6 separate regions of the Homo sapiens genome follow, and all the other regions are linked to region 2. The links are contacts of gene promoters, found by promoter capture Hi-C in blood cells and fetal thymus (Javierre and others, 2016). All regions are on one chromosome and are shown on one strand. Each heading gives the region's core, a stretch centred on a gene start or on the middle of the fragment in contact. The rest is flanking DNA. Distances are from core to core; before and after follow the strand shown.

What was found. Contacts are between HindIII fragments. The CHiCAGO score rates a contact against its expected background, and 5 or more counts as called.
Region 1: a contact is called between a fragment that was not itself captured here and the fragment with the promoter of LIPE in region 2, in 9 of 17 cell types (fetal thymus, erythroblasts, total CD4 T cells and 6 more). The highest score is 10.7, in fetal thymus.
Region 3: a contact is called between a fragment that was not itself captured here and the fragment with the promoter of LIPE in region 2, in 1 of 17 cell types (neutrophils). The highest score is 6.0, in neutrophils.
Region 4: a contact is called between a fragment that was not itself captured here and the fragment with the promoter of LIPE in region 2, in 14 of 17 cell types (naive CD8 T cells, total CD4 T cells, naive CD4 T cells and 11 more). The highest score is 18.3, in naive CD8 T cells.
Region 5: a fragment that was not itself captured here is called in contact with the fragment with the promoter of LIPE in region 2 in 11 of 17 cell types (naive CD8 T cells, neutrophils, naive CD4 T cells and 8 more); the score reaches 10.6 in naive CD8 T cells.
Region 6: a contact is called between the fragment with the promoter of GRIK5 here and the fragment with the promoter of LIPE in region 2, in 3 of 17 cell types (neutrophils, fetal thymus and naive CD8 T cells). The highest score is 6.1, in neutrophils.

Annotation. Positions count from the first base shown.
Region 1 is chr19:42,087,042-42,090,510 of GRCh38, forward strand. POU2F2 (POU class 2 homeobox 2) reads right to left here. Exons shown (of 15, transcript NM_001394376.1): 15 at 1-3,469. Among named protein-coding and RNA genes, the nearest start is that of ZNF574, 13 kb to the left of the region's middle. The HindIII fragment of the contact is 1,199 bases long and covers 1,178-2,376 here.
Region 2 is chr19:42,426,065-42,429,617 of GRCh38, forward strand. LIPE (lipase E, hormone sensitive type) reads right to left here and starts at 1,324. Exons shown (of 10, transcript NM_005357.4): 1 at 203-1,324. The coding sequence starts at 1,085. CXCL17 (C-X-C motif chemokine ligand 17) reads right to left here. Exons shown (of 4, transcript NM_198477.3): 4 at 2,214-2,917. The coding sequence ends at 2,820. All of the region lies in intron 1 of LIPE-AS1 (LIPE antisense RNA 1), which reads left to right. The HindIII fragment of the contact is 12,356 bases long and covers 1-2,836 here.
Region 3 is chr19:42,152,947-42,156,663 of GRCh38, forward strand. POU2F2-AS2 (POU2F2 antisense RNA 2) reads left to right here. Exons shown (of 2, transcript NR_186341.1): 2 at 2,761-3,717. It also overlaps a transcript of POU2F2 not described here. Among named protein-coding and RNA genes, the nearest start is that of POU2F2-AS2, 2.3 kb to the left of the region's middle. RefSeq lists an enhancer at 2,048-2,576. The HindIII fragment of the contact is 3,776 bases long and covers 178-3,717 here.
Region 4 is chr19:42,103,545-42,107,356 of GRCh38, forward strand. All of the region lies in intron 5 of POU2F2 (POU class 2 homeobox 2), which reads right to left. Among named protein-coding and RNA genes, the nearest start is that of POU2F2, 27 kb to the right of the region's middle. The HindIII fragment of the contact is 5,797 bases long and covers 1-3,812 here.
Region 5 is chr19:42,133,050-42,136,402 of GRCh38, forward strand. The region is part of intron 2 of LNROP (long non-coding regulator of POU2F2); the gene reads left to right. It overlaps MIR4323 (microRNA 4323), which reads right to left and starts at 464; the gene lies at 396-464. It also overlaps a transcript of POU2F2 not described here. RefSeq lists a silencer at 79-338 and an enhancer at 619-668. The HindIII fragment of the contact is 1,520 bases long and covers 1,106-2,625 here.
Region 6 is chr19:42,068,348-42,071,903 of GRCh38, forward strand. GRIK5 (glutamate ionotropic receptor kainate type subunit 5) reads right to left here and starts at 1,859. Exons shown (of 20, transcript NM_002088.5): 1 at 894-1,859. It also overlaps a transcript of ZNF574 not described here. The HindIII fragment of the contact is 24,593 bases long and covers 1-3,556 here.

The sequences.
Region 1 (3,469 bases), core at 527-3,026, 340 kb before region 2:
GCGGCTTGGAGTTTTTGTGTATTTTTTTTTATTTTTATTTTTAATTTTTTTTCACTTTTTTTCCAACATATAAAAAGGTAGCGGAGTTGTCTGTGGGTTTTTTTTTTTTTTTAAATGGTTAAATCTTTGGTTTGTTTCTTTTTTCTCTTGGAGGCCTTTATCTCTCGCACTTGCCTTTCCCACTCAGAGACCAGTGGGGGCCCGCGTGTCTCAATCTTGCTGTCTGTCTCACTCTCTCTCTCACTCAGGTCCCCCTACCCTGGGCTAGAGGAAGAGAGAGGCACCCTGGTGTTCATGTGGGTTAGAAAAACTAGTCAGGTCAAGAGGTCACCCTGACTTGGCTAGTCCCTCGCCAGATCTCCCCAGGGCTTGGAGAGCCCGTCATGGCCTTCTCCAGGGAGATGGATGGAAAACTCATATCCTTCCCCTCCTCCTGATCTCAGCCCCAACTCCTACTGGGGCTTGGGTTCCCCATCCCTACCCACCCCCACACACACACCCACCCCACCCCCCAGAAGAGAACAGAGAGAGGTGGTTTAGTTACTGGCATCAATTTTTTTTTTTTTTTTTTTGGCACAATGAAAAGGCCCACCATTAGGGTAGACCCAGTCTCTGTCCCTCCCTTAAGTAGGAGGTCAGGGTTGGGGAGAAGAGAAATTCAGAGGGCTCCCCACTGCTCCAACCCACTCATCTCTCCTCTCTTTCTAGCCCAGGCCCTTGGCCCCCAACCTCGGACATCTAACCTAGCCCATAGCCTAGCCTGGGGTTGCCCTCCCCATCCCCCACATAAAGCTCCCCAGCCCTCCAACTCTCTCGCTCATACACAGACACACGGACACAGGCTCTGTACAGACCACAAAATAAAAACGATGAGATAGTTTTGTTTCCCGGAGTCGAGACGGGGGACCAGAGTGTAAGGGGCAGATGGGGGTGGGGGGCATGAATTCCCCCATCACCTTCCCAACCCTGGCTCCCTCCAGCCCCCCAGCCCCTTGCCCTGGCTGGCCCCCAGCCAACGATATTTGGTTTCCTTTTTTTAACATTAAAGTTCTATGAGGTATTTGGTGCCTTATCTCGAGTCCTCAGGGGAGGGGGGCCCAGGGGGAGACCTGGGGCTCACCTGCCCCTCCCTCCCTCCTACCCCCTTCCCAATATTTGGTTTCACAGCTGTAGTTAAAGCTTGGGATTTGGTTATTTTTCCCCCTCCCAGGAATTTTTTTTTCTTGTTTTTCTTTTCCTAGGTGTGAGGGTTGGATGGGGAGGGTCCCCAGCACCCCCGGCTGCACAGGGGTCCCTCCACCAACATCAGGGCATCTGCCCCATCCCTGCCCCCTGCTCCTCCTCTCCTCTTTACCCCACTCCCACATACTGGGGTGGGGAGAGGTCCCAGGTGGTGGGACTTGATGGGGAGGAAGCAGGATGAAGTGGGTGGTGGTGAGTCCTGGATTTTCTTTCCTTTTTTTTTTTTTTTTTTCCTTTTTGGTCTAGAATCATAGTTTTTGTTTGAGTCATCTCCACCATGCCTTCCATGCTGCCTGTCTTCTCGGAGGGGGTTTTTGGTTGTAATTCCTTTCATTTTGCTCTGCTCAAATGTCCTTCCTATTTGGTCAGGAGCCCTTGGCCCCCTCTCCACCCTTGGGCTGGGGCCCAAGCCCTCTTGCCAGTCCCTTCTCTCTTCAGGAAATAAACATGGACAAACTCAGAGGTAGGGTAAGGGCAGGGAGTCGTTCAGCGGAGATGCTTACATTCCGGTGAGGTTGGGTAGACGAGGTGCCAGGCCCCATCGTGCCGGGGTGGGAGGGGCGGCTACTTCACCACTGCCCGGACAAGGCACCCAGAGGCCCCTGCAATGGCCGAGTCTCTGCTGCCTCCGTCGCCCAGCCCAACAGTTTCATTTCCCGGGTGGGAGAAGGGAGACAAGGAAAAAAGAGAACGCTGAGGCCTGGAGCTCCATCTGCCTCTCCTCAGAGTGTCCGGCAGAAAGTGGAAGCTGCCCAGGCCAAAGCCCTGCGGTCTCAGGGCTCTCCTCTCTCTCTGCTCCTGCCCAACAAGGGGCAGGGGCCACACTACGGCTGTCAGGCCCCACCCTGATTTCAATGGCTCGTGTCCTTCACTGCAACACTTTGGTTTGAGGAGAGACACAGAAAGAACAAGATTGAGAGAGAAGAGAGGAGAGCAAAGGGAGAGAGAGGAGACAGGAAGGAGGAGAGGAGAGAGGAAGGAGGGGAGGAGAGAGGAAGGAGGGGAGGAGAGAGGTCAGACAAAAGAGAACCGAAAAAGAAATCAAAGGAGGAATCAAACCACCCAAAAGTTGTTAAGTTTTCCTTCATCTGTTCTTTTTGCTTTCTTACTCCTTTTTTTCCTGTCTTTTTTTAAAGCTTTTTCAGTTGATTTGGGAGGGGAGTTTGGGGCTCTTCACCCCTGTCCCTGATACCCTCTCTCAGCCCCGCCCACCCGCTTCCATCTGCCCTGGCCGAGGGACAGGCCCTGCCCCAGCCGCCCCCTCCGGCTTTCCCAAAGACAACGTCCATGAGGTATTTGTGAAGAGAAAGAAGCATCCGTCCTTCCATCCGCCTTGGGGAACAAGGGCCTGGACCACCGGTGCAGGGGCTTGGCTCCGCCTCGCGGTTCCATCTTATTCTTGAAGAGTCCTCATCTTCTTTCCCTTTTATATATATATATATATATATGTTTATATATATATATAAATTTTTTTTCTAGTTTAAATTTATTGTTTGTTTGTTTCTGTTTTTTTGGTTTTCGGTTCAAAACTTTGTTGGCCTCCACAATAGCAGGAGGGCAGGGTGGCTCCCAGTGGTGTCTCTCCTCTGTCCGTCGTCAGTGGAGACGTGTCCGGGGCTGGTCAAACACAGGGTCCAGCCAAGAGTTGTGGAGGTCTTGTGGGAGTGGTGGCCACCACCGCGCCCTCTCAGATGGGGACCACAGGCTGTGGCACTGTCCCCACCACATGGACCCTGATGGGGATGCCATCTCGAGGAACCCCACCACTGGGGTGTGTGCGTGCGTGCATGTGGGGGGAGGGAGAGGCATTCGCCAGTACCAGAGGGGCACAGGGTGGGAAAAGCGAGGTGAGTTCTCTTTTTGGTTTCTGGTTAATGTCAAAGAACGTGAAGGATCCCACGGATAGGCACTGGAATATGAATTTTTTTTTTTTTCAGGGAAACAGACAGGATGGAAAAAGACAACTGAATGCCCTCAACTGAATGTCTTCATCCCCTCTTGCCTGAAATTTCCACCTTCCCATAGGCTGGGGAGGGAGTCAGTTCCAGAGCAGAGGAGGGTGACAGGGTTGAGGAGGGACTTGTGAGAGCTAGAACTTGGCAAAATGGCCTAGCCCACCCTTCAAAGGGGAAAAGAGGGAGGAACAGGGGATGAAAAGTTGTCCGCAGGCCTTCCCTTGAACTCTCCCCTGCTGGGGGGAGGGAGGAGGTTAAAGCAAGACCCCCTG
Region 2 (3,553 bases), core at 74-2,573:
GTGCTGGGATTACAGGTGTGAGCCACTGCGCCCAGCCTTTTTTTTTTTTTTTTTTTTTTTTAATAATGGGGATGTTGATCTTTATCTCAGGATTGTTGAAGGATGACCAGAGCTAACCTGATACACCGTAAGTTTTTAGTATTTTTTAAGTAAATGAATGACTGTCCCTGAGAGGCTTCAATTCCTCCAGATTCACACTCACCTGTATCCTGGTAGTGTCTGTGATTCCGAGCACTGGTTTTCTCATGTGGCGACGTCCCACTGTATCCTGACATCACTTTATAACCAGATTTTCCTTTGAAGCCTAGCTTCACTCCCTGGGCCACCATTCCACCCATCGTGGCTGGAGAATCTGTGTCTGAAGATGATCCCACATCTGATTCTGACTCAGAATCTGTGACCCACTCAGAAAGTGCCTTCCACTCTAGGGCTGATCGCTGTATGGATAGTTCCTGAAGTTTTGTTAGAAATCCCAGCTCTGTCAAAGATCCCTGCTTGGATTTGGCTCCCTGGACTGGCGTTGTTTGCTTGTCTGACTGTTCAGGTGTCTCTTGGGACGTAGATTCAGTCGGGGCAGATGGCTCCCTTTTGGCTCCAGGTTTAGCCTGGGCCGCAGGTGTTGATTCAGCTTCTTGTTGAGCTGGAGGTGGCTCTCCTGGCCCAGGCCCTGGCTGGGCTACATGTCTTTGTCTCAATGCTGGCTCCTGTTGAGTTATAGATTCTTTTCCTAGCCCAGGTCCCTGCTGGGAGGCAGCTTCCTGTTGAGTGAGCAGCACCCTTTGGATGTAAGGTGATTGCTGTGGTGCGGGCTTCTGTGGGGCAAGAAATTCCTCTTGTGAAGCAGATTTTTGTTGGGCTCTAGGTTCCTTCTGGGATTCAGCATCATGTTGTGCAGGGGTCTCCTGCTGGGTGAGGGGTCTTTGGTTTGAAGCAGGCTTCTGTTGGGTATTGGATCCCTGCAGAGTCTTCGATTCTGGCTGGGCTATGGGTGTCTTTTCTGGCCCAGGCTCTAGCGGGGTTATAGGCCTCTGGTGTGGTTCAGGTTGCCAGTCTGACCTAGACACTGACTTAGAACCTGGCTCCATTGTTATTTCCCTCACGGGAGATATTGATCTTCCAGGTTCTATCCTTCTGGGCTCCCACCCAGCCCTCTCTCTTCACAGATCTCTCATTGATTCCTCATGATGGCACTTCCTCTTGGGTTTCACTCCATCCTAGCATCACTGGTCTTCCTTTTTAAGGCAGCTGGCAGTTGGCCGATCACAGCTGGCCCCCACTAAGTAATGAACTCTGTGCCTCTTTCTTTGGTGGGAGGATTAGGAATAGGAGGAGGCTATGTGCCTAGCACTCTCTTACAAGAAGGGAGGGGCTTGCTCTCTTGTGTCATAAATAGGGCCCCACCCCACCCACCACTCCGTTAAAATGTTTCTTCTCATAAGGCAAGCATCCCAATTTAGGCCTCCGTGTCATCTGGGATGACAGAAGCCAGATGCTGGATGAGTGTTCCTTTTTTCTCTTTCCTTCTAATGTCTGAGGAAAGCGTCATTCAGGGGGCAGTCTCTGTAGTTGTTGTAATAATTATTTCCCTCTTTGTTCATTCCTACAAATGGTTGCCAGATTATTTATTTATTTACTTATTGAGACAAGTCTTTCTCTGTTGCCCAGGCTGGAGTGCAGTGGTACCATTTTGGCTCACTGAAGCCTCCACCTCCTGGGTTCAAGCGACTCTCCTGCCTCAGCCTCCCAAGTAGCTGGGACTACAGGCGTGCACTGCCACGCCCGGCTAATTTTTATATTTTTAGTAGAGATGGGGTTTTGCCATGTTGGCCAGGCTGGTCTCAAACTCCTGACCTTAAGTGATCCACCCCCACCCCCCGCCCCCGGGCCTCCCAAAGTGCTGGGTTTACAGGTGTGAGCCACCACGCCCAGCCAGGTTGCTAGTTTAATTTCCTTATATTGTCATTCTGATCATTTAACTCTCATGTTAAAAACTAATGTCATGCCTTCCCACTTTTATAGCTTGAGGCCCTTCTGAATGGCATTTGAGATACTCCATGCCATCTCTCTAGCCCTGAACTATGATCCTGTACTAGATTGGAAACTCACAGAAGACAGTGACCACTGATGACAATGACTGATAATGATGGTGGTAATGGTGATGATAGTAGTCATAAATACCAAAGGCTGCCTAAGTGCTAAGAAACTGTGCCAAGTTTTTTTTTTAAACCTATATTATCTTTAATAAGACCGTGTCTGGTTCATTGGTATGCTTTTTTTTTTTTGTCCCACCTCGCTCTTACCTCAGAAAGATTTGTCGAATGAGTGAAAGATGAACAAGTAGGCCAATGGAGACAGAGTGAGGGTCTTGGTGGGGATAAGTATGTGTAGAATCTGGATTCAGTCTGCAGTGAATAGGGTAAAATGGGTCATCTGGTTGTGAATTGGCAGACCCCATTTGAAGGAAACAATTTTGATCTGTGACATTTAAAAATATTTATTGACTTCTGTTTGCTACTTTCCTGATTGCATTTAAGGTTAAATGACACTAGCTAGGAAGCTACAGTTTCCTGGAATCTTTCAGGTAATTAAGCCTAAGCCTGGGTAAGGGGAGGGCACAGGCTAAGACTGACGAGAGAAGAAGACACTAGAGAGAGCAACAAACAAAATGATCTTGAAAAACATGCTTTTTGAGAGCACTGGAATGATTTAGGGGTGGGTACAGTGGGAGAGTGAGGTGGGAGAAGAAGAGTGTCTGGTAGGTGTGCTCACTGTCTTCTTGGCTGAGAATGTTTAATTGGAAGAGTGGGCGCTCAGAGCTCCTACAAAGGCAGAGCAAAGCTTCTTAGCTGACATTGTTTGAGAAATTGCTGGCAGGCTCTGGAATGCTTGTTTGGCTTTCTGTGGTGCCTTTGGTGTCCTAGGGTGCAAATAAAGGGGAGAGGCTAGTGTTAAAACCATTTTTAACATTTCTTTTTTTTTTGGAGACGGAGTCTTGCTCTATTGCCCAGGCTGGAGTGCAGTGGCAGGATCTCAACTCACTGCAACCTCTGCCTCCCGGGTTCAAGTGATTCTCCTGCCTCAGCCTCCCAAGTAGCTGGGATTACAGGTGCCTGCCACCATGGCTGGCTAATTTTTGTATTTTAGTAGAGACAGGGTTTCACCATTTTGGCCAGGCTGGTCTGGAACTCCTGACGTCATGTGATCCACCCACCTCGGCCTCCCAAAGTGCTAGGATTACAGGCATGAGCCACCATGCCTGGCCTTCACATTTAATTTTTTTTTGAGATGGAGTCTCGTTCAGTTGCCCAGGCTGGAGTGCAGTGGTGCAATCTTGGCTCACTGCAACCACTGTCTCCCAGATTCAAGCGATTCTCCTGTCTCAGCCTCTCGAGTAGCTGGGATTACAGGCACCCACCATCATGCCTGGCTAATTTTTGTATTTTAGTAGAGATGGGGTTTCACCATGTTGGCCAGGCTGGTCTTGAACTCCTGACCTCAGGTGATCCACCCGCTTTTGCCTCCCAAAATGCTAGGATTACAGGTGTGAGCCACT
Region 3 (3,717 bases), core at 816-3,315, 270 kb before region 2:
GGGTGGGTGCTGGAGTAGGCTACGGTGAATGGACACAAAGAACAGTGGGGCGAACCCTCAGGCCGGCCTGCGCCCACCCCCAGAGCTGCTGGCTGCCCCGCCTTTGGGTCCCTGCGGGTAGAAGTTGCCTTGGCCTCACCCCAGGGTCTGGCCTGCACATGTGTGGTTGGGGTGGGAAGCTTGTGCGGCTTCGGACAGGAGGTTCCAGCGAGAGGTCTGTGGTGTGCGAGCTGCCATGGACGCAGGGTGTGCATGTGTCCTCAGGCTCTGCTGGGGGATTCTAGGACTGCACATACCCGAGCGTCTTGGCCCGAGTCATGTCTGTGTGTGAACATGAGTTCATGGATGTGTCCCAGGAGCACTGGGTGGCTGTGTATGCACTTCCATGAGTGTTTCCCTGACGCTAAGTCTCTGTCTGTCCCTTGGGGATGTATCCCAGGAACACCTCAGGGATCTCCTCTGTCCCCAGTTAATGGGGTAGCTATGTGTTCCCATGTGCTCTGGGAAGCCTGTGTGTGTTGGCGTGCGCATGCCCCTGACAGAGTGTGTCTGAGCACGGATGCTGCTGTGCGTGAGCCTCCATGGGTCCCGTGTGGATCTGTGCCTGTGCCTGTGGGCAGCTGCGTGTGCTTCAGGGATCTGCGCGGTGGTCTCTATGTGTACTGGAAGCAGGTTCTCCTCATGAGTGTCGGAGAGTCCATGCGGTTTCTCTGTGTGTCTATGTGATGCTGTGTGTCCCTGTGTGCCGATGGTCGAGTGTGTTTCCACAAGTGGGCTGGAGGCTCTGGGTGTGTCCCTGTGTGTGTCATGGTGACTTGGTGTAGACGGCACGGTGTATGTGTGTAGAGGCTACAACCCTGAGTCTCTGAGTGGGGGAGGGTGGCGAGGCAGCAGGGGCTGCCACGGAGACACTGGCTAGCCGGTTTTATCACTACATCATCTCCAAATCCCAATGTCAGGGCCTGCCTGCCTTCTTTCCCTTCCCTGCCAGAGACCCCAGACCCCTGCCAGGATGGGCCCAGGCCCCCGTCCCTCCCCCGGCACCTTGGGCAGGCTGTACCTCTGCTCCTCAACACCCCTGCTTTGGTGGATGCCACCTCAACTCCACCAAGCGACCTCCGTCCCTCCCAACCCCCCCAGCGCCACCCGCTCCCCCCGCCCTCCCCCCACCACAAGTCCAGTCCAACCCAGACAAAAGCAATTACTCCAGAGGTAGGATGTGAGTGTGGGTGTTAGAAACAGGAAAAAAAGGGGGGGACAGGGAGGGGGAGCGAGAGAGACACAAACAGAGGCAGGGATGGACAGCCAGAGACCCCGAGAGACGACAAGAGAAAGAGAACGGCAGAGTGAGAGACAGAGGCACACGCAGAGAGATGCACAGAGAAGCAGAGACAGAAGATGAAAGAGACTGGAAGGGACACAGACACCAAAACCAGGAGGCAAAGGCAGAGAAAAAGAGCAGAGGAAGGGCAAATGCAGAGAGCACGACAGAGAGAGACGCAGAGACAGTGACTGGAGAGACGGAGAGAGAAACAGAGAAAGAGCACACAACAGAGCAGAAAACCCAGTGATGGAGCCACACAGAGAGAAGACGCAGATAAAGAGAGAACGGGGGCCAGAGGCAGGGAGAACTAGAAAGGGGGCAATGCACAGAGAGGAACAGAAAGGCTGAGTGAGAGTGAGAGAGAAAGGAGACCAGAGAGATAAAAGGCAGACGGCAGATAGTGGTGGAGGGGAGTTGGTAACCCACTAGAGACTCTGAGATGGCAAAGCTAGAGAGAAACTGAAAGGGGATCACGTCCAAAGTGATGTCTCTCACACACACACACACACACACCTTTCTCCCCATTCCCCAGGCCAGAAGTCAGGGATGCTCAAGCCTTTTTCCACGTTCCTCTGGGCCCCTGTGAGCCACGGTGGGGAGGGGACAGGGTGAATGGACAGGGATGATCTCAGGTAGCTTCAGGGACCAGCCAGAGCCGACTGGGACCTGATCACATGGGTAGGGAGAGCAGTACATCCCTCCTTACCACACACCGCCACCTCACCCTCCACACACAGTCCACACACACCAGGGCCTTGGCCAATTTCCTCGTACTCTGCCAGGCATGGCCAGCCTGGGGGGTGGGGGGCCAGGTGTGAGGTCCTTCCTTCCTGCCCCACAGTCCTGCCCACCTGCCTCAGCTGCAGCTGCCCCGCACTGTTTTTTCTTTCTCATTGTCCCCTGCCTTCAGCCCGGCTGCCTTCATCTTTCTCTGATGCACTCTCATGCGCTCAGCTCGCATGCACGCGCCCTCTCTTTCTCTCTGTTCCTTTCTGTCTCTGAGTCCCTCACTCTGCTTTCCTGCCTCTGACTTTTCTGCTGTTTCCTCTTCCTCTTTGCTCCTCTCCGTTGCTCTGTTCCCCTCTCTGTGTTTCTGTCATGAGGTGCATGCTCCCTGGGTCTCCCTCTCCCTCCACTCCCATCTGGTGTATTCTGGATTCCCCTTTCTTAGACAATCCCTCTGGCCCTCCTATCCACCTCGTCCCCAAGAAAAGCAAGGTTGGGCACAGTGGTCCTAGCCTGTAGTCCCAGCTACATAGGAGACTGAGGCAGGAGGATTGCTTGAAAGTTTGAGAAAAGCAAGGGTGGATCACTGTGTAAAGGACCTCAGAAGCTGTCCTGGAGTGCTAGGAGTGGGTGAATACTTCCTTTCTTGTTTTTCCCTCAATCACCTTTTATCCTCCTCTCTTTCCTACCCCACCTCACACCCACCCCAGGCCGGATCTCTGGATCTCCCCAGCCTCCAGATCTCAGTGTGGCTCTCTCTGGAGACAAAAGCTAAGACTCAACCCACAGGCAACACTCAACACAGAGATCCAGCTCAGAAAAAAAGGAGCTGACCAGGGAGGAATGGAGAGGCCAAGACACATAATGAAGACTAAGAAAAGGAAGAAAGATGATGCTGGGGCTGGAGCCAAAGGGAGAGGAAGAGGAAAGGAAGGAAAGCCAGGGGCAGAGACCTGGCAGGGCAGCGTGAGCCCAACAACCACGGGGTGGGGGTGGGGCGCGCATCAAGATTTCTAACAAGCGCAGCTGAAAACACCCAGGGCCGTTCTCTGAGGCCTTCTCTCTGCCTACCAGCCCTCACCAGTGCTTCGAAGAGCCCTGAGGAACGTCTCTCTATTTGAAGTCAGAGCCGAGTGCCTGCTCTCGGCACCTGGGGCTCCATGCTTACCAGGATGGTGGGTACTTGACCTTCATTTGCTGTGGGACTGTCAGGGATTCCAGGGACCCACTGGTCCCCGAACTGGCTCAGAGATGCAAGCCATTTTTACCTCCTACACATCTATAATCCCCACCCCATGGCTGACAAATATTCCCAGTCCACAGCTGTCTCCACCCACCCAGTGACAGAGCACAGGCAGCCAAAAGGATCAAGCAATCTCTTGCCACCTCCCAGCACCCCAGAATGCTAAACAGACCCTCACATCTGGACTCCACATCCAGCGAGGAGTGCCCCTGCCCACCACCCAGATCACACAGCTGCCAGTTACAGACCACCCTATAGGTCCCACCACACGGCCATAGCCCACCAGCATCCCAGAGCTGCCTCTACACTAAAGCTCTGTCCCAGCCCAGCCATCCTTCAAGCCACATCTGGAATAGCACACACCCTATTCCACTAGCCAAAGCCCCCAGGGGTGTAATTCAGAAGGAGGCAGACTGGGCCTGGG
Region 4 (3,812 bases), core at 1,155-3,654, 320 kb before region 2:
TATTCCTAAAGACCAATTTGATGTGCCAGGAAGTGAACAAACTGGGAAAATATATAAGCAATTCAACAGAAGGGGCTCGTTTCTTTTTTTTTTTTTTTTTTTTTTTGAGATGGAGTCTCACTCTGTTGCCCAGGCTGGAGTGCAGTGGCACCATCTCGGCTCACTGCAAGCTCCGCCTCCCAGGTTCACGCCATTCTCCTGCCTCAGCCTCCCAAGTAGCTGGGACTACAGGCGCCCGCCACCACGCCTGGCTAATTTTTTTGTATTTTTATTAGAGACGAGGTTTCACCGTGTTAGCCAGGATGGTCTCGATCTCCTGACCTCGTGATCCGCCTGCCTCGGCCTCCCAAAGAGCTGGGATTACAGGCATGAGCCACCCTGCCCAGGCCAGAAGGGGCTCATTTCTTTAATATACAAAGAGAGATTTTGCAAATAACTCTATATAATTAAAGAAGAAGAAAAAAGTAGTGATTACAAATCCATAAGTAAAAAACTGACAACCCAGTAGTAATGTGGCTGACAGACAGGTCTGGAGAGTGCCCAGTGAAATTAATGTGAACAGCTCTGGATGGAAATACACTCAGATTCACTCGCAATAAGATAAACACGACTGCAATTGCACTGAGATATCATTTTTACCTCTCAGATCACCAAATATAAAAATAGTGTGTAATACCACATTGGGGAGTGTGGGGAAACACACATTCTTGTACATGCTGGTGAGAGGGTGATTTGGCAATGTCTATCAAAATTACAACTGCACACAGCCTTCAACTCAGCCATTCTACTGCTAAAAATTTATCTATTCTCACTCTAGAAGGCTGGGAATGGCCTTCTAGAGAGGTGCAAAATGACCTCTCTAGAAGGCTATTCCCAGCAGCAAGTGGCATTCTGGCAAAAGAGTAGAAGGTAGCTGAGCATGCAGCAAGACAGGATGGGTTGGATGAATGAGGGCAGAGCTCTACAGTGGAATACTATGCAGTCACCAGCAAGAATGAGGAGTCTCTTTGTGTCCTGACATGGAACAATCTGCAGGATGTCCTGTTGAGTGGAAAGCTCAAGAGGCAGAACAGAGGGTATGAGGTGGTACTGTTTGTGTCACACACAAAAAAAGAGTATATCTGGATATTTGCTTGGGTATGCATAGTTGATGTCTGGAAAACCATACCAGAAGGCCACGCTGTAAATCCATTCATACCTCTGGGATTTGAAACATGTACCTGGTCTGAGTAAATAAATATCCCAGTGTCTCACCCCCACCCACCCAAACAGTCACTGCTGATCAACATCCCTGCTTTTCGACAGCTGAACACTATTCCCTGACCCCCTGGGGGTGCCTCTGCTTATTCCGTGTATGGCAGTGGACTGGGTACTCCTGTGCTCCTGACCTCTCTAACTCTTGCTGCTAATCATCTCAGAATCCAGCTTAAGGGTTCTGAAGTCCTAGCACTCTATCCTGTGAAACAATGTCCACCCTGCCTTCCCTTTCCCAGCTACCCCCAGCCCAGTAACACCTCCATGGTCACCTCCCTCCAGATGTGGATCAACTGTGAAGCGGGCAACACTTATGCTTCAGGGCCCCCCATTTACAGTGAACCCTTTCAAGGCCCCATACCTAATTTTTGTTTCAAACATTGTCTTTTTCTTTCAAAGGGACTCCAAGTTGCATAATCTTTTGGCCCCACAAAACGAGACCCACCTGCCCTGTGCTACACGTCTCCCAAGTCAATGCATTTGCTTATGTGTACTTTTCCTCTGCCAGACTGACTCTAGCAGACCAGAGGCATATCTTATTCTTCGTATATCCCTAACTCATATCGGAACCTGGTAAGCCCCCATTAAATGCCCACTGAATTGAATCTAATGAATAAGACTAGAAATCAAGTCTTATTACCAGCATTTTTCTGATTTCCTATAACCCTTAGCTTGTTGATTAAAGTATTTGTTAACTCCTGTTCCTCCCTAGCATGACTCTCAATGAAAATTCCCCTTTCCTCCAGAAGCCTAGAGAGGTGTCTGTGGGTTTCGTTCTGAATCACCAGCGAGAGGAAAGAATGGGGAAAGTGCATCCCAGTTTGCAGAAGGTCTCATGGTGAGAAGTTCAGATGGGAAACATTTAATCACATCCCTGTCTAGTTTCTCAGACCAGAGACTTAGGGGTCAGCCTTAATCCCACCTTCCCTTCCTCTCCCCATCCATCCAATCCATCTGCAATGCAAGTCTTCCCAGTTCCCTCTACATCTCTTCCTGTCCACAGTGACTGTCCTGGTCCAAACCACCATCCTTCTACCCCAGACCATCCATTCGCCCCCAGGCAGGCAGAGAGGGGTCTAAAACAATAGAGGTCTAAATGTTTTTGTGCCCTGAATTCTTCAGCATCTGAAAAAAAAAAAAACCTATTGCCCTCTTCTCAGAATTAAAAACACATAACATATGATATATAGGATCTTTCTTTTTTCTTTCTTTCTTTCTTTCTTTCTTTCTTTCTTTCTTTCTTTCTTTCTTTCTTCTTTCTTTCTTTTTCTTTCTTTTCTTTCTTTCCCTTCTCTCTCTCTCTTTCTTTCTTTTTTGAGATGAGATGGAGTCTCCCTCTGTCACCCTGGCTGGAGTACAGTGGCTCAGTCTTGCTTGGCTCACTGCAACCTCTGCCTCCCGGGTTCAAGCAATTATCCTGCCTCAGACTTCCAAGTAGCTGAGGCTACAGGTGCACCCACCATGCCCATGCCCAGCTAATTTTTGTATTTTTAGTAGAGAAGGGGTTTCACCATGTTGGCTAGGCTGGTCTCAAACTCCCGACCTCAGATGATCCACCCACCTCGTCCTCTCAAAGTGCTGGGGTCACAGGTGTGAGCCACCATGTCCAGCCAGATATATAGAATTTCAAATGAAATCAATCACATAATTATAGTCATCATCACTAGGGACTCCAAAGGGAGGGAGAAGGGCAAAGGCTGAAAAACTTCCTACTGGGTACTGTGTTCACTACTGGGTGACAGGAACAATTATACCCCAAACCTCAGCATCCATGCAATATAACCCTTGTAACATACCTACACATGTATCCCTGAATCTAAAATAAAAACTGGCTGGGCACAGTGGCTCATGCCTATAATCCCAGCACTTTGGGAGGCTAGATGTGAGAATCTTTTGAGCCCAGGAGTTTGAGACCAGCCTGGGCAAGATGGCAAGACCCTGTCTCTACAAAAAGAAAAAAACAAGAAGGAGGAAGAGGAGAAGGAGGAAGAGGAGGAGGAGGAGGAAGAGGAGGAGGAGGAGAAGGAGGAGGAGGAGGAGCAGGAGGAGAAGGAGAAGGAGAAGGAGGAGAAGGAAAATTAGCCAGGCATGGTGGTGCATGCCTGTGGTCCCAGCTACTCAGGATGCTGAGGTGGGAGGATCCCTTGAACCCAGGAGTTTGAGGTGGCAGTAAGCTATGATCACACCATGGCACTGCAGCCTAGGCAACAAAGGGAGACACCCGTCTCCAAAAAACAAAATAAAATAAAATAAATTAATTAAAATTTGGCTGGGTGCGGTGGCTCATGCCTGTAATCCCAGCATTTTGGAAGGCCAAGGCGGGCGAATCACTTGAGTTCAGGAGTTTGAGACCAGCCTGGCCAACATGGTGGAACCCCATCTCTACCAAAAAAATACAGAAAAAAAATTAGCCAGGTGTGGTGGCGGGCGCCTGTAGTTGCAGCTACATGGGAGGCTGAGGAAGGAGAATCACTTGAACCCAGGAGGCAGAGGTTGCAGTGAGCTGAGATCACACCACTGCACTCCAGCTCGAGCAACAGAGTGAGACTCCGTCTCAA
Region 5 (3,353 bases), core at 616-3,115, 290 kb before region 2:
TTGGGAGGAAGTGGTGCCCGTGGGCAGTGGTAGTGGGGACGGTGGGTCGGGGACTTGGCCTGGGGCTACAATAAGTCGCCGGCCAAATGCGGGCGCCCGAGGCGGCTCCAGTGGAGGGGAGCACCAGGTCCCCGGGCTGCCGGCTGGCTCTTCGCGCTGCGGCGCTCCCATTTCAGCGCTTCCCTCCGTGCCCGCCAGAGGGCGGCAGCGCCCAGCCAATGGGCCGGAGGGCGGGGCCGGCTGCGGAGAAGGGAGCCCCTCCCTCCGCTCCCCTCCCCAACACCCTCCCAACACCTCCGCTCGCACACCTGCGAGGGTCACACAAAGGCGCAGGACTCCCGGCGCACCGCAGCTCAGACAAAGGCGCGCCCGAGTCCGCTGCCCTCTTCCTCTTGGTGCCCGAGGTCTGAGGCTGTGGGGCTGCCTGGCGTCTCCAGACACCCCACATGCCCGCCTGGGCCCCGCAGGACATCCTGCGCCCCGTGGCTGGGGGGCCCCCTAAACCACAGGTGCATGCACAGACGCCTGGACTCACCCTCACACACACAAGTATTTCTACAGATGAACCCCAGCACTTCACACACACACACGTGTGCACACACACGTGCATGAACACATCTATGTGCACAGGCCCCAACACCAGCCCTCCCTGCTGACGATGGTCACTCCCATATACTGATACCTCCTCTACTCCCTCACATGGACCCATGGGCACAAGGGCACTTCTACACATATGTGCCCAAGCATACTTCCTGGCCACTCGCACCCACTCACACACAGGCACACTCAGAAAGGGTATACTACAGGCACAACTACAGGAGTGCCCTCCCCTGACTGCACACGTGCCCTGTGCACCCAGACACACCCAGGCAAGCAGGTGGGCACAACAGGAAGGACTGGCAGTTCTCATATATGCACACGAGAGGTGACCGTTTCCCGGCATCTACACTCCACAACATCCCGTATCGTAAAGGCCATTTCACAGAGGAGATCCACAGACCACACAGCAACTGGCCACAGGATTTCTATACATGAGGGTCTTCCCGACAGCAGCCTGGTAGCAGTGGACACTGGAGCCTTGTCTCAAAGCGACATTTACGCAGTAAGCTTTGTTTTCAGTTAGGATTTGTTTTGGGGGGCTTGGAAATGGGGCTATAGGACATTATGGGGGGGGGCAAAACCTCACCAGCCACCCTTATGCTCCACCCTGGACAGACTCAACATCATCCACGTCAGGAACACGCTTTTGGATGTGACCCCATTCCAGCCCCCTAGAGCCAGCAGAGAAGGACCACCCACTTCCAGTGCGGCCAGGTCTGCAGTTCAGTCCTGGAGCCGGGGAAGGCTGTATACGCTCCCTGAGAGATGAAACAACCCCACACCTCTCGCCTCCCATGCTGGCTCCATTCTCAGTGCCTCAGACCAGAGCTGGGCCTGGTGAGGGGATCTTGAAGGAGGATGGGCCTGCCTGAGAGAGGATAGAGGGGCAGAGTTTGGAACACACTGGCAGCTGGAACAGGGAGGCTCAAGGCAGGGGGAGATGGTGGCCTCGTTGCCACAGAAGAGGCCTCGAGCCATGCTGAGGGAGGCAGGTAGGGCATGGGAGCTAGGGAGCAGTGGGGGCCACTTGAGGTGCAGGGAGCTGGGAGGGAGGCGGTACAGGGGAGGCCAGGCTGGGCTCAGGGCTGAGCGGTAATTAAAGGAGACGTAGGGGGCTCCCCAGGGCCAGCGGGGCTGGTAACTGACACGCGGGCCCCATTGCTCCGCTCATATTTCTCGCCGGATCGATACGTTTGACTCCCGACAAGACAATAATCGCTTGTACGCGGCCGGCGAGTCGATCAAATACATTATTAGAGCGAGGTCCCCCGGGGGCCCGGCGGGGAGTGGTGGGGGGGAGCAGCCAGCCCACCGGGGACAGCAGAGCGAGATTCTTCACCCCTCAGGGCCCCCCAGCCATGGCCTCTTCCTCTTGGCCACCCCTGGGGACCCTCTCTGTGGCTCAGTTCCCCAGCCTCTCTCTGAATGTCTGCTGCTTTGGTGATCTCTCTACTCAGCCCCCAGCATCATCCTTGCTCTGTGAGGGAACCCAAGGGTTCTTTCCCCATAGGCACTGCCCTCATCTGTAGGGCTGTGGCATGTGGGAGCTCAGAGAGGCTCCTCAGACCCCTAGCTTGGCAGGAGACAGGGAGACCAAGCCTCAGGCCATACTCTGAGTCCATGGCTGGGCCAGGAGATGAACTTGGGCCCAAGACTCAATGATACCCACCTCCCTCTGCCCAGTCCCCTTGCTGCATCTAAGCACACGGGGCTTCAGCAGCGCCCAGGCCAGGGGCAGCCTCTGGGGGGTTAGGGAAAGCTAACCTAGGGACCCAAACAAGCAGGAAAACAGGATGATAGGGGTGGCAGGAAAACAGGATGATAGGGGTGGCAGACAAACACATACACAAAGAGATGTGTGTCTGCTCCTGCTGCAGGGCCATGTGGTCCCCCAGTGGGCCTCAGAGACCCTCAAACCATGCCCAGCCTCAGCTCTGGCCCACCCGAGACACTGCTTGCCACTCTTGCCCACTTTCCTGGCTTCTAGGCTCAAGCCTATTTCCCCTTTTAAAAAAAATTAAATTAAGCTTTAGCTTTATTTTTAAAGTCCAGGCTCTTTTTTTTTTTTTTTCCTTTGAGACAGAGTCTCACTCTGTCGCTCAGGCTGGAGTGCAATGGCACAATCCCGGCTCACTGCAACCTCCGCCTCCTGGGTTCAAGCGCATCTCACGCCTCCTCAGCCTCCCGAGTAGCCGGGATTACAGGTGCACACCACCAGGCCAGGCTAATTTTTGTGTTTTTAGGAGAGACAGGGTTTCACCACATTGGCCAAACTGGTCTCGAACTCCTGAGATCATGTGATCCACACACCTCAGCCTCCCAAAGTGCTGGGATTACAGACATGACCTCAAGCCTATTTCCTGTTTACACACCTGCTTTGCCCTCTAGACCCGAAGTGCCCCTTTGCTTCTCCAGCAGCCCTAAGTCAAAGTCAAGTTCTGCTTAGGAGTATCCAGCATTCAGGGACTTAAAATATATCTTCCTCTTTGTCTTCATTAGCAGCAGCAGCCCCCACAGCATTGTGGTCTATGCTTTCCTTTTTTTTTTTTTTTTTTGAGACTGTCTGGCTCTGTCACTCAGGCTGGAGTGCAGTGGCATGATCTTGGCTCACTGCAAACTCTGCCTCCCAGGCTCATGCCATCCTCCCACCTCAGCCTCCCAGATAGCTGGGACCACAGGCGTGCACCACCACATCCAGCTAGTTTTGTATTTTTAGTAGAGACATGGGTTTTGCCATGTTGCCCAGGCTGGTC
Region 6 (3,556 bases), core at 609-3,108, 360 kb before region 2:
CCAGACATGGAGAGGAATGGGAGCAGAAAGGCCACGCGAGGTAACACAGAAGTCGGGAGAGAGAATGGGAGTGGAAAGAGCCAGACCAGCCAGGAAAAGTCAGCATGGACCACGGAGAGGTGGGGCAGCAGCTGAGGAGGGAGGGACTGAGGAGCCGGGCACCCAGAGTGGATCTGGGGGAAAGAGGTGGAAAAGTGACAGAGGGAAGACAGCCTCCAAGCTCAGAGGCAGAGAGAGGGAGGAGGACAGGTGAGCGGAGGCACAGAATAGAAAGAGAAATGGAAAGAGACCTGCCGAGGGAGACTTGGAAAGAGGGAAGCCAGGGTGGAGGAGTTCTGACAGAGAGAGGGATCTAAACAGAGACATGCCGAGAGCAACCTGGGCTAACAGCAAAGAGAGAAGTTGGGCAGAGTCAGAGAGGGGCCCAAGAGACACAGGAAATGGGGGCTCAAAAGCGGAAAGACATATCCAGGAGATAGAGACTGGACGGGGTGGGGACAGGGCCAAGGCCCACCGCAGGCAGAGGATGAGGCTCAGAGGAACAGAAAGAGCCAGTCTGGGACCAGGACGGAGGCTTGGAGACAGCAGGGGCACGGACATGCCAGGGGCCCGGGGTAAGTGAGAGCCCAAGTAAGAGCAATCAGCCCCGTAGGACCCCAGAAAGCTAGAGGGCCAGGGGCGGCAGTGAGCTATGTACCCAGAAGAAGAGGTGAGAAGAGGTCGAGGTGAATGGACGCTGAGGAGATGGAGGGCGCAGAGCAGGCCCCTAGTGGGGGAGGGTACTTGCCAGTCCGGAGAACGGGGAGAATGTGGTGCCCCCCTGCCAGGCGGCACCAGAGCCCAGCCTTCCAGGACCCAGAACCCAGCCCAATCCCTGCCCTGCAGACACTCACGGATCCTGGTGGGACGGAGGGCTGGGCTCCCTCGAGGCCCGAAGACCGACAGCGGGAGGTGCTCTGGCGCTGGGTGGTGGTGGGGCTGGGCGGGGGGAGAGGGCAGTCCACAGGGCCCCCTCCCCCGCCGCCGGTGGTGGCTCCCAACTAATCCAAAACGGTGGCTCCACAGGAGCAGGGAGGAAGGACAGGTGGAAGAGGAGAGGGCGGGCCGGGGAGGGGAGGAAGGGGAAAGGAGAAAATGGAGGAGAGAAGGGGAGAGAGGAGAGGGGGAAGGAGCAAATGGAGGGGAAGGAGGGAGGAAAGGAGGAGAGGAAGGTGAAAACGGAAGGGGGGGGCACAGGCAAAGCCGGGGGAGGGGGAAGCTGGCCCAGGAAAGGGCCCCCGCCCCCTCCCCTAGCCGGGCCGGCCTGGGGGGGCCACAGGGGGCGAGGACTGGGTGGAGAAAAGGAAGCCGGCCATCAGGAGAAGTGGGGGAGGGGAGGGCCTGCTGGGGGAGGGGGCCGCCCCCTTTCCCCCTCCCCCCTGGAGCCTGGGCCCTGCCCTGGTTGAGGCAAGGGCCCGGAGTCCTCAAGCCCTCAGCCCCCACGGGAAAAGCATGCTGGGGGCGGGGAGAGCCCGGGAGTGGAGAGCTGGGGAGGATGGAGAGCTGGGAGACCCGGAGAGGCCAAGAAGGGGGCAAATGAGGTGGAGAGATAGGGAGGAGGGAGAGGAGGATGGAGAGGAGCAGGTGGAAGAGAAAGGCGGAGGAGGGTGGGGTGTCCCAGGGGCTCCCGGTGCTGGGCCTCAGTGGGAGGGCCTGGCGACACACTCCTGGTCCCCTGTGAGGAGCCGGCTCCAGTCCCCGGCTCCAGTCCCCGGCTGGGCCTGCCTCCCTGCCGCTGGCTGCCGCCACCGCTCAGTCTCCCCTCCGAGGCCGCCGCCTGCCTGCCCGCCTGCCGCCTGCGCTGGGTCCTGGAGCGCAGTGGGGTGGTTCAGGAGAGAGAGAAGAGGGAGGGAGGGAGGCAGGGAGGAGGGCGGGCAGGAGGAAGGGAGGGAGGCAGGCAAAGAGAGAGTAGGGAGGTGAGTCGGGGGAGGGGGAGCCTGTATTGGTTGGGGCTGGGGGCCCCCCGCGAGGAGAATGCTGATGAGAAGAAGGAGCTGCATTGGATGGAAGGCCCACCCCCGAGCCACCCCCTCTACCACACCATGCCACCGCCCTGCCCAGGCAGCCCTGGGCACAGGAGCCCACAGAGATGAGAGGCAAGAAGACCCAGGGAGAAGGCCACTGAGATGAGGGGAGAGGGCTACAGAGATGAAGAGAAATGAAGAGAAGAGAGACAGCCGTCAAGACTGTCCAGAGAAGTGGGCTGAGGCCCACAAACCCCACAAGGACAAGGACAGGAAAAGCCCAGGGATAAGAAAGAAAGGCCCATGGAGACAAGGGAGCAGCCTACAGAGACAAGCAAAAGGACCTCGGAGACAAGGGGCAGTAATGTGGACATAGAGACCTCCCGCGAAGGAAAACGGGAGAAGCCAGAGACACAAGAGAGAGGCCCCTGGAAACAGAAAGCACTCCTCAGATATGGGGAGCGGTCCACAGGGCAGGGAGAGAGCCAAGGAGAGCCGAAGAAGGTCACAGAAACAAGGGAGGCCTACAGACACCAGGGTACCAAAAAGACAAGGATGTGGCTCATAGACACAAGAGAGCCACTGAGGCAGGAGCTGCCAGCCTGGAGATGCGGGGCAAGCCTCCCCCAATATAAATAGCTCCTATAGAGGTGAGGGGATGGGTGGTGAGTATGAGAATTCCCTATAGTGCACAGAGAAATCCTTGGGACCCACAGAGATGAGTGGGTGGAGAGAAGGGGCCCTCATTCTCTAGTCACAGGAGCAGAGAGGCAGTGGGAAAGGTGGATGGGACAAGGAGAGGAAGCTGGAGGGCAGAGCCAGAAGTGGGAGACTCCTTCCCAGGGAACACCCTGCAGCCTCTCAGAAGGAGCTGAGCAGGACAGGGGGATGGAAGAGAGAAGCGACACAGATCTTGGAGTGGGGGTGGGTGGTGCATGGCTGGGTGGGGGGTGAAATTTGGGGGGAAGAAACATGACAGTTGGCGCCGAAGGCTGAGCCCGTGACTCACCACCACCCCCGATGCTCGTGATGGGGAGGAGACACTGACACACTCACGTGCGGCCCACAGCATATGTGACCGCATGCCTCGAACACACAGCTGGCACATGGCAACTCCTGGACCACATGCCAGCCCAGCACAGGAAGCCCTCTGCAAGCTGGCATGTGGGGCATCCTGGACACACATCTGACACATATATCTGACGCTGAAGGACCACCAACTTTGCACACACCTCCTTACCCCACTTGGTCAACATCTACACCGCCCCCTCAAACATCCACACTTAACTCCAGTCAGGCCTAAAAGCCCAGATTCACACCTGCCTCTGGGACTTTGCTTATGAAGGACCTCAACACAGAACACCATCCTTTCGACCAGGGCGGTGGCTCATTCCTGTAACCCCAGCACTTTGGAAGGCCGGGGCAGGTGGACCACCTGAGGTTGGGAGTTCAAGACCAGCCTGGCCAACATGGCAAAACCCCGTCACTACTAAAAATACAAAAATTAGCCAGGCCCGGTGGCACACTCCTTTAGTCCCAGCTACTTGGGAGGC